Regions from separate parts of the Homo sapiens genome. Here region 1 is linked to region 2. The links are contacts of gene promoters, found by promoter capture Hi-C in human tissues and cell types (Jung and others, 2019). All regions are on one chromosome and are shown on one strand. Each heading gives the region's core, a stretch centred on a gene start or on the middle of the fragment in contact. The rest is flanking DNA. Distances are from core to core; before and after follow the strand shown. Region 1 overlaps TMCO4 (transmembrane and coiled-coil domains 4). Region 2 holds the start of RNF186 (ring finger protein 186).

Evidence for each region. Contacts are between HindIII fragments. The study calls those that stand out against the background at their distance.
Region 1: a fragment that was not itself captured here is called in contact with the fragment with the promoter of RNF186 in region 2 in 1 of the 25 tissues and cell types used here (pancreas).

The regions. Positions count from the first base shown.
Region 1 is chr1:19,780,636-19,786,096 of GRCh38, forward strand. It overlaps TMCO4 (transmembrane and coiled-coil domains 4), which reads right to left. Exons shown (of 16, transcript NM_181719.7): 4 at 1-131. The coding sequence starts at 123. Among named protein-coding and RNA genes, the nearest start is that of TMCO4, 17 kb to the right of the region's middle. The HindIII fragment of the contact is 8,610 bases long and covers 1-5,461 here.
Region 2 is chr1:19,814,033-19,819,949 of GRCh38, forward strand. RNF186 (ring finger protein 186) reads right to left here and starts at 1,251. Exons shown (of 1, transcript NM_019062.2): 1 at 1-1,251. The coding sequence starts at 1,069. The coding sequence ends at 386. It overlaps RNF186-AS1 (RNF186 antisense RNA 1), which reads left to right and starts at 377. Exons shown (of 2, transcript NR_186008.1): 1 at 377-521; 2 at 5,211-5,470. RefSeq lists an enhancer at 2,712-3,243. The HindIII fragment of the contact is 3,016 bases long and covers 454-3,469 here.

The DNA.
Region 1 (5,461 bases), core at 353-2,852, 33 kb before region 2:
GGCGAAGCGGTTGGCCTCAGTCAGCTCCCGGCCCGTGGGCAGGTGTGGCTCCCCCTCTGCAGTGGGCTCAGCTACCAGAGGCTGCTGAGGCAGCCTCTGGCATGGCCTGTTCCACATGGCCATTCCCAGCGCTGCAGGAGAAAATTCCCAGTGAGAAATGCTTCCAGAGGTAAGCCAAGGTTACTTAAGCATGACACAGAACTTACAAACCATAAAAGGTTGATAAAGTAGGCATCATTAAAATGAAGAACTTCTTTTCATCACCTTTAGGAGAGTGAGAACACACACTACAGACCAGGATGGAGGGAGGGATCTTCAATATGTCTATCCACAAAGGTCTATACACAGTATCCAAACAACTAACTCCAGTAAGTCATTAAGAAAAAGAAACGAAGCAAATTTAAAAATGGGCAAAAGACTTGAATAGATACTTCATAAAAGAGATTCCACAGTGAGCCGAGATCGCGCCACGGCACTCCAGCCTGGCTGACAGAGCGAGACTCCATCTCAAAAAAAAAAAAAAAAAAAAAAAGATATTCCTCAGGCCAGGTATGGTGGCTCATGCCTCTAATCCCAGCACTTTTGGAAGCCGAGGTAGGAGGACTGATTGAGCCCAGGAGTTCAAGACCAGCCTGGGCAACATAGTGAGACTCCATCTCTACAGAAAAATAAAATAAAATAATTAGCTGGGCATGGTGGCACACGCCTGTAGTTCCAGCTACTTAGGAAGCTAAGGTGAGAGGATTGCTTAAGCCTAGGAGTTTAAGGCTGCAATGAGCTATGATCATTGCACTCCAGCGTGGGCTAGAGAATGAAACCCTGTCTCTTAAAAAAAAAAAAAACCCAATAGCCAATAAGTATGAAAAGATGTTCAACATCGTTAGTCATCAGAGAAATGGAAATTAAAATCCCAATGAGACACTAACTCTCACCTATCAGAATAGCTAAAACTAAAAAGACTGAGAATACCAAGTGCTGGTGAGGATGAAGAGCAAACAGAACTTTCTTTTTTTTTTTTTTTTTTCTTTTGAGATGGAGTCTCGCTCTGTCGCCCAGGCTGGAGTGCAGTGGCACGATCTTGGCTCACTGCAAGCTCCGCCTCCTGGGTTCACATCATTCTCCTGCCTCAGCCTCCCGCGTAGCTGGGACTACAGGCGCCCACTACCACACCTGGCTAACTTTTTGTATTTTTAGTAGAGACGGGGTTTCACTGTGTTAGCCAGGATGGTCTCCATCTCCTGACCTCGTGATCCGCCCGCCTTGGCCTCCCAAAGTGCTGGGATTACAGGCATGAGCCACCACGCCTGGCTGCAAACAGAACTTTCATACACTGCTGGTGGGAGTGTACATTGGTATAACTATTTGGAAAATGGTTTGACAATATCCACTAAAGCTAAACATATGTCTTCCCTATGCTCTGGCAATTCCACTCCTGAGAAATGAGGACTTAAGTCACGAAAAGACACATACATGAATGCTCACAGCAACTTCATTCACAATAGTCCCAAACTGGCAACAACCCACACGTCTATCACAGTAGAATGGATAAATGGTCATATTCATACTGTGAAACATTACACAGCAATGGAAAGGGAATGAACTACAGCAAACATGAATGAATCTCAGACAAAATGATACACAGAAAGCCATTCACGAGAGAGTACCTACCATGGGATTCCCTTTATATGAAACTGAAAAATGCTAAACCCAATGTATGGTGATGGAAGTCAGATGAGGGGTTACATGTGGGAGGGAGTATTGGCTCAGAATGGGTACAAAGGAGGTTTCTGGGTGAAGGAAATGATCTCTATCTTGACCTGGGTGGTCATCATATGGGTATAAATATATTTAAAAATTCCCTGAACTGTATAGTTAATATTTATGCACTTTGTGTATGGTATACCTCAAAGGAAGGAAGGAAGAAGGAAAAAAAGGGAGGAAGGTCTCCTCTTTGTTCTCCCTCCTTCTTTTCCTTCCCTCTATTCTTTCCTTCCTTCCCAGGGGGAAAAGGGAAAGGGAGGAGAAGAGTAGGAAGAGGAGGGAGAGAAAAGGAGAGAGGGGACACGCCAAGAAGGCATCCAAGAAGCAGAAAGAACCCTGGGAGCCACCAGGAAGGGTACAGGGAAGGGTGCCAGCCTCTACTACAGGGGATCAAGGATATGAATGCAGGCTCAGGACCAGACAGACCTGGGCGTGAAAACAAGCACCGCCACTTATTAGATATGGGACCCTAGGCAACTCAACCTCTCTGTACTTAGATTTCTTCACCTACAGATGGGACCATACAGTATCTACCTAGAAGAGCTGTGTCAGTAGTAAAGGACACAGCCCATGTGGCTTAGTACTCGTAAAGCACCTAGAATAGAGCCTGGCACAGGGTTCATGCTATATAAATGCTTGTTTAAAAAATAAAGGCACAAAATGATCAACAAACAAATAAGTAAAATGCTTGGCATGGTGCCTGGCACATAGCAAAGGTTTAATAATAACAAGACCTAACATTACTGAGTTATTACTGGGTGTAGGGCACTGGGGTTGCAATTTTAACATGCATTGTCTCAGCAGACTCTAGAGGCAAGTAGGACTGTAATGTTCAGTTTGCAAATTAGGAAACAGGCTCAGAGAAGTAACTGGGCTCCCCTGATACAGCCAGTCAATGGCAGACATATAGGGCCCAAAGACAGAACTGTTGGCCACCAACTCTGTTTTAAATATTCATCACATGGCCAGGAGTCTTCTAGTCTAATAACCACACTCCAAACAGTTATTTGTTCATAAGTTTGTTCCCATCTAGCTGAGCAATAAAAATTTTTGTTCTCAAAATATTACTTCTGTAGAGGAGTTATTTAAAAGTCTGTCCACAACTAATATTTCATTTGTTTTCAAAACAACCCTGAGGTAGTTCAAAGCAACAAACCAACACTTTTACAGCACATAACTGTTTACAAAGCATTTTCCAGTCTGCTTAATTCTTATAACTACCATGTAAAGTTAAGTAGGACATGAACCATTACGATTCCCTCTTACAACCGAGGAACAGGCTCAGAAAGACCAAGCAATTTTCCCAAACTTACACAGTAAGTGATGAGATCCAAACCAGACTTTTGACTCCAAACCTTGAGCTCTTTCCTCTACACCAGCACAGGGATCTTATTTCCCCTGTTTCAGATGGAGAAACGGAGGCCCAGAGAGGTTAAGACCTCGCCCAAAGTCACCCAGCAAGACTGGCCTCAATGGTTGCTCTAGGAACCCACGTTTGAGATTTGCAGCAAATTTCCCTGGCTCAGAGGGTCAGCTCAGACCATGGTGGTGGGAACAGGGGCAACAGCATAAACCATGAACTAAGGGCAGTGCCAAGGGCAGCACTAGCCTGATGTCAGCAGGTCAGAAATTTCCACTACATTTAATCAACTCCACGTGCCACTTGGAGGCTATATTGATCGCACCTATTACTCAGAGGAGCCCAAGGTAGTATTTTACTGAACTGGTATCTGGGAAGCCCCACGCCAGTTCTTAGCTCAATAATAAACAGCTTTCTGATCAGGGAAGGGTAAGCTGGCCTGCTTCTAACCACAGAGGTATGAGGATGTGTCTAGAGTACAAAAGGCTAAGCTCAGGCTGGGCGCGGTAGCTCACGCCTGTAATCCCAGCACTTTGGGAGGCCGAGGCGGGTGGATCACTTGAGGTCAAGAGTTTGAGACCAGCCTGGCCAACATAGTGAAACCCCGTCTCTACTAAAAATACAAAAATTAACTGTGCATGGTTGGGTGTGCCTGTAATCCCAGCTACTCGGGAGGCTGAGGCAGGAGAATCACCTGAATCTGGGAGGCAGAGGTTGCAGTGAGCTGAGATTGTGCCACTGCACTCCAGTCTGGACAACAGAGCAAGACTCCATCTAACAAAATAATAATAATAATAAAGCTAAACTCAGACCAAATTCATTCATTCATTCAACACAATTTCTCCTGATGCCCTACAATGCATTCTCTACATAGTGGCCTCAGTGACCTTTTTGTCACATAGACCAGTCATGTCACTAGGTTGCTTAAAAGCCTGCAAAAGCCTCCCATCACATCAGGATAAATTCCAATCTTGGTATGATGGCCTAAGAGGGGTGTCCAATCTTTTGGCTTCCCTGGGCTACACTGGAAGAAGAATTGGTTTGGGCCACACATGAAATACACTAACATTAAATGATAGCTGATGCACTAAAAAAAAAAAAAAAAAAAAAAAATTTCGCAAGACAACCTCATAATGTTTTAAGAAAGTCTATGAATTTGTGTTGGGCCGCATTCAAAGCTGTCCTGGGCTATATGTGGCCCACAGGCCGAAGATTGGACAAGCTTAAATGTCCTGTGCAATCCGGTTGCTGCCTGCCACTGAACTCCATCTCATGTCCCCACACCGGTCTTGTTCACTACGCTACAGCCACACTGGCTGTCTTTCTGCTCATTCCCTCCAGGCCCTTGCACCTGCCATTCTCCCTGCTGGGACCACCCTTCCCTGACCATCACATCATCTGGCCTCAGCCCAGATGTCACCTCCTCTGAGAGACCTTCCCTGACCACCCAGGCTACAGTATTAGGTTGGTGCAAAAGTAACTGTGGTTTTTGCAATTTAATAGCAAGACCCACAATTACTTTGCACCAACCTAATATCTTTGTCTTCTATCTCAGCACCCTGTTCTATTTTTATACTACTCATTCTTACCTAAAATAATGTTTTTTTGTTTGTTTCTTTTGTTTTGTTTTGTTTTACTTATTTGTTTACCTGTGTGTACGAGGCAGTTCCCTGGTTGTTTTTTCACTGCCACACCCCGAGCTTTCTGGACAGGACCTGGATCACTGTAGGCATTCAGGAAATACTTGCTGGATGAATGAAGAAGGGGCTAGGATGTGGGAAGCCCTGTTCTGGGCCTTAGGGCAGATCAGAGGATGAAACTGACAAGTTCCCTGCTCTTAAGGGGCTTACATTCTGGTGGGAGACAGGCAATAATATGCCAATACATAATGACAAAGCGACCTAAGTTGGTCAAGGTCACAGAGCTAATAAGCAGTAGAACCGAGACACACACTCAGGAGGTCTGGTTGCAGAATCCATGCCCTCAGCAGCCCACTCAACACATAGCTAACTAAGCATTCCTTCAGGAAGTGGTCAGGGGGAGGAACAGTGAGGCAGGGTGAGGGGATATGAAGTGATGGGGTGAAGCAGGGCTGGCTACTGTATGTGGATGAAAGGTGTCATTCCAGCAGAGGCCTGCAGAAGTCACAGGCTGGGTGGAGAGGTATTCCTTAGAGGAAACAGTATGGTGGTAGAGACAGACAAATACACAGACAATGGTGGCTGGGCACAGTGGCTCACGCCTGTAATCCGAGAGCTTTCGGAGGCTGAGGCAGGAGGACTGCAGGAGCCTGGGCAACAAAGTGAGACCCTGTCTTTACAAAAATAATAATATTTTAAA
Region 2 (5,917 bases), core at 1-2,500:
TTGCAAAAAGAATGGAATTCCAGTTCTATTCTACAATGGCATCAATACTGCAATACTTTCATCAAGTTATATAAAGAAAAACCAAGAACATTGGAATAAGAGGAACAGGAGCTTCCCCCATCTTGTCATGTTCAAGTAGTTTGTGTCTGCTCCCCTAGCCACCAACAGTTTTAGCTATGCTATCCCAAGGGCAAGTGCAAGCCTGTCATCCAAGCGTGTAATTCTTGACCCAGGCTGGCCATCTCGGTTGTGGCTTGCAAGTCCCGCTGGCATGTGATTTCCCAAAGGAGCCAGTCTTAGTCCGTAACCCCTTACCCTGTTCATTGTGGAAGTCCGGGGGCCCAAGGGCAGAAAGGGCTGCAGGGATAGCCTCATCAGAGGGCACTCAGGCAATGGAAGAGATGTGGCTGTGTTTCTGCTCTCTGCAGAAGAGAGTCCTGGAGGAGGGCCAGCAGCTGCCCCGGGTGCTGGGGAGACAGCAGAAGAGGGTGGACATCAGCAGGGCCAGGGCGATGATGAAGGTGAGCACCCATCGTAAGACACCCGGGTAGATGAAGGGCCCGATGAGGATAATGAGCAAGGCCAGCAGGAGTAGGTGCGCGGCCAGGCGCCGGGCTGCCACGTGGTTTGCACTTACTTCATCCTGTCCATCCTCTCCCACCAAGCTGGGGTGTCCTGCTGCCAAGTCAGCAGGATCCACCAGCCCCTGAGGACAGAGCGATACCTCTGTGCATGGCTGGGCCAGCTGCCCCACCACCGCCTCATGGTCGCGCAGGCTGCAGATGAGGCCCCCGGGGACGGCGGTGACCTTGCGGCACAGCGGGCAGGTGATGGACCAGGTGTTGTCCTGCACGCACAGCAGGAGCTTCAGGCAGATGGCGCAGAAGGCATGCTGGCAGGCCAGCAGCTTGGGCAACCGGGGACAGCTGTAGGGCTCCCGGCACACCAGACACTCCAGGTCACATTCTGTGGAGCCAGAATGACCCCCAGCAGGGGCCACAGCGGTGGTGGTTGTGGTGGCTCCTGCGGAGATGGGCTGGGACTGTTGCAGGGTCTTGGTGCAGGCCATTCTGGGCACAGGGACCGGTGGGACACTGTCGCTCAGCACCTGGGCATTGGCAGAGAGTGTCAGCTGGCGCCGCTGGGACTTGGATGGAATCTGCCCCTCCTTTTCACTCTGGCCAGGTGCCTGTTGACAACAGCTGTCTGACACTCCTCTCTCCCAGAGCTGCCCAGCTTGTTTCTTGGCTTACGTCGTCCCTTCAGTTATTATTATTTATTTTCTCAAAACCTAGGGTTAATCAGTAACTTGCGGGTCTGGAGACTTTGAATTGCCTGATAGGAGGGCAAAGTGGGCAAGGGTCTAGTGAATCAGGACTTTCCTGTTGGGGCCAGGTACCTGGTGGGTGCCCACAGAACTGTGGCTCAAGCTTTAGGAGGCAGCAGAATCCAACTCTCTCACCCCCACTTCCCAGGTCCCTGAACCTTTTATTAATTTTTTTTATTTAACTTTTTTTTTTTTTTTTGAGACGGAGTCTCGTTCTCTCAGGTTGGAGTGCAGTGGCCCGATCTTGGCTCACTGGCATCTACAAATCTGCACAATAAACAGACAGCCCTATGAGTCGGACATAGGTGGATTGGTGGACACTGCTTTCTCAGACACAAACTTTTGGATGTCAGGATGAGTGGAAAAAAGTTTGTTTGCACTTGGAGCACATTTACAGGCAGGTGGCCTTGGAAAGAGGAGGGGAGAGGTAAGAAAAGTGAGTGGAAGGAGGACAAAGCCCAACCCAACGCAGAAAAACAAAACCACATACAGCGCACAGGTGTTTGGCACCTGCTACTGTATTCATTTCCTTAGAGCCACAGCTGTTGTATTCACAGTTACGGGTGTATGAACTTCCCATCGGTGCCCTGCTGCACACTTCACATGCCTAATCACAGGTGTCCTGTTTTGTGCTAGGCATGCTGCGTATCCAGTAGTACTAAGAACAGCTGCCATTTATTTGGGCCTACTCTAAGCCAAGCCCTGTGCCCGGGGTCCCCAGCCCCCATTTCCCGGAACCCTGATACAGCCTTGTAGGGAAGGCTGGGAAACAAGGGCAGGGTGTGGTCAGGGTAGGCTGCTGGCTGCCTGCCAAGGGGCCTTCCATGGAGCAGGACCTTGTGGAATCTACCAGCGTCCAAGGTCTGGTTGAATCAATTTCATTGGTTCATTTGGACACAACTGGCCCCAGCCGGGTGGCGTAGGCTAAGAGGACTCATGTGAGACAGGCAGATATTAGTAACACAGCAGTTAGGAAAACGTGATTTCCTTACTTTGCCCTCAAGGGCAAATGGCGGGGTGGCATGTGCACTCCCTCAAACAAATGTTTCATTCAGGCCACTCTGAACTCAGAAGCCCGTGTGAAGGATCCTTTGGTGCTCATGTCACCTGCCAAGGGCCACACAGAGTCCTGTGCCTCTGATTCAGCTCTTTCCCTTACCCCAGTAGCTGGCACTGCAGGCCACCCTCTGTGTCCTGGAGTCACCAGCCCCAAAGGGGCTCCCTCCCTTGTGGGATCGGTAACTCCCACCTCCCCACTCCCCCTGGGCCCTCTATCTCTGAAATCCAATACTCTCACCATCCCATCCCATTTCTTCTCAACCTGTAGCTAGACCATCAGTTACCTCTGTGAAAGGAAAATAAATCGTGGGGCCCCAAAATCACTAAGCCACAAGGGAAAGTCAAGCTGGAAACTGCTTAGGGCCAGCCTGCCTCCCATTCTATTCAAAGTCACCTCTCTGCTCACTGAGACAAATGCATATCTGATTGCCTCCTTTGGAGATGCTAATCAGAAACTCAAAAGAATGTAACCATTCTTATCCACCTGTGACCTGGAAGCCCCTTCCCCACTTCAGGTCTTCCTGCCTTTGCTTCAAGTTGCTCCACCTTTTCAGATGGAACCAATGTTCATTTTACATATGTTGATTGATGTCTCATGTCCCTCTAAAACGTATAAAACCAAGCTGTGCTCTGTCCACCTTGGGCACATGTCATCAGGACCTCCTGAGGCTGTGTCACGGACATGTGTCCTCAACCTTGGCAAAATAAACTTTCTAAATTAACTGAGACCTGTCTCAGATACTAAGGTATAGATACACATCTATATCACGTTTTCCCCCAGATCAAGCTGAAGGTGGCCTTGGATCTAGGCATGTTTTTTCCCCCATGCCTAGCATTCTTTCCCCTTTTTTGGGTAACAGTTCTCTGTTTTCACTTTGGGCAACCACTGCTTCCCACCGTCATTCTGTGCTCACGGAGAGGGTGATGTCTGGCTCCAGCTCTCTGGAAGTGGGGCCCTGATACAATTCAGGACAGGCCAGTTAGCATGCTCTGCTCTGCTAGCTGCAGCCATTGGTTTGAGCGTAGGCATATAATCGAAGCCAAGCCAATGAGATTCAATTCTGAGACTTCTGTTGGAGCCCTTGAGAAGTTTCTCTTTGTGCTGGGTTTCTAAGTTAGAGGATGGAACCCTGGGGCTGCCAGGACCACAGTGTGCAGAGAACCTGCTCAAGAGTAAGGTCAGCACAAAAGAAAAATGAGAAAAGAATCAGACAAAGGCCTGATGATGTTATTTGAACACCTGAAGCAGGACACCTAGCATTGGATTTTTTCAAGGATATTAACCTATAAAATCTACCCTGATTTTTATTCTTAAGTCAGTTCAAATTGAACTTCTGTCCCTTGCAAGTGAAAGACCTCTATGTAACACAGCAATGGATGAAGAAAAGAAGCCTTTACTTGCTCTCTGACAAAGGGTCAGGCATTGATGAGACAACCAGACTTTGTACACGGACAAGAGTGACCGAATGCCTGTGTGTTACCATGCTAGAAGAGATTCTGTGTTTTCTCTGCTTGGACTTGCATTGCATAATGTTATTTTCTGTTTGTGAGACCCTAGGATGGATTAGGGATGAGAGGAGAAAAATGTGTTGAGCCACATTCATTTATAATAAGAATAGAAAATCAGGTGGGCCACACAGTGATGTTGGCTTGGCCAGTGTCCCTCTCACTTTTTTTTGAGATAGAGTCTCGCTCTGTCTTGCCCAGGCTGGAGTGCGACCTCTGCCTCCCGGGCTCAAGCGATTCTCTTGTCTCAGCCTCCTGAGTAGCTGGGACTACAGGCGTGTGCCACCACACCCGGCTAATATTGTATTTTTAGTGGAGATGGGCTTTCACTATGTTGGCCAGATCGGTCTCAAACTCCTGACCTCAGGTGATTCACCTGCCTCAGCCTCCCAAAATGCTAGGATTACAGGCATGAGCCGCTTCACCCAGCCGGCCAGTGCCTCTCTCTCTAGCCAGCTTAATGGGAAATCAAATTGTCAGAAGGTAGCTGAGTGAGGTTGAAATCAGACCAAGGGAAGTTATTTGGGGTTAGAGCCTAAAAAATAACCTTTTAACATCATTGGGCAACCACCGTTAAGAAAACATATTGGCTGGAACAACCCAAGTATTACAGAAATAAAGTAGAATGTGAAAGTTCATCTTACTGCAACCCCTGAGAAATGACCACTGTTAACAGAGCATTCCTTCCTGTTGTCCTCCTCCTACCATCTTGGCTTAGGAACAACTTTGTTTCTCAAAAGTGCCTTGCCTTAACTATCACCAGCACTGACTATAGCTGGAAATCTGGCTCCTGTCACTTTACCAGCTATGTGACCTTGGGCAAGAATTTTAACTTCACTGCAGTTCAGTTTTAAAATTTGATAAAATGGAGGCCGGGCACAGTGACTCAAGCCTGTAATCCCAGCACTTTGGGAAGCAGAGGTGGGTGGATCGCTTGAGCTCAGGAGTTCGAGACCGGCCTGGGCAATGAGGTGCAACCCTATCTCTACTAAAAATACAAAAAATAGCTGGGCCTGGTGGTGCATACCTGTAGCCCCAGCTACTTGGGAGGCCGAGGCAGGAGGATAGCTTGAGCCTGGGAGGTCGCAGTTGCGTGAGCCAAGATCGTGCCACTGCACTCCAGCCTGGGTGACAGAGTGACACTCTGTATTTAAAAAAAAGTAAATAAAATAAAATAAAACAAAATGGAGACGTTAACACTTGAGGAAATTATGGATTATTTAAGCCCTCCACCCCTGACTACAACCTGCTCACAGGAGGCTTAGTAATTTATGTACTTTGGGTTGTAACTGACCTAGGTGAAATTGATCTCTTCCAGGGACATGAGATAAGACACTTTGGTGACTGATTCGGCCAATGCTTCTTGAAGAGGAGTGAATATGGGCAGAGTCTGAGGTGGAGCCTGAAGCAGATCTACCCCAGGGGAATTCAAAAGTGTCTCCGGAGACTTAAAATGTTAAATTCATCTAGGTTTCACATTCTTCTCCATGTTCTATTTGTGCTTACTGCAACATTAGAATCCCGAAGCATGCACGAATCCTTCCAAATCTCCAAATAAAACATATTTGTTTGTTTTAATTGCTGTACAAATATGAACTCATTAATCTTGAGTAAAGCTTTTTTTTCTTTTTTCATTTGAAATGCAGTTTCTTCCATCTTATGGCTTCTCACAGCCCTGGGGTCATACGCACTCCATCGTGAGAAACACAGTCTCATGTTGGGGTGAAATTTCAAGCCTAGCTGCAGGCTGGGGAGCCGGAGCCAGTCCAGTTGAGGAAGATCATGTTGGAAATCACATGTGCAAGGAACCACACACCCATGTACCTTTGCAAAAACATGTCTGATCTGAATTTTAGGCCTCCCGTCAAGTCAGAAAGGAGTCAGGTGGCAGCACTGTTCTGAGATCAAACTGTCCACTCATCTTTGGCCTCTGTCCTGATCAGCTGACCCTCACCCCACACTCCAGTGAACACAGGGAGCCAGGTCCCAGCCAAACGCCGAGTTGCTCTCCACTCCTCCTTGCCT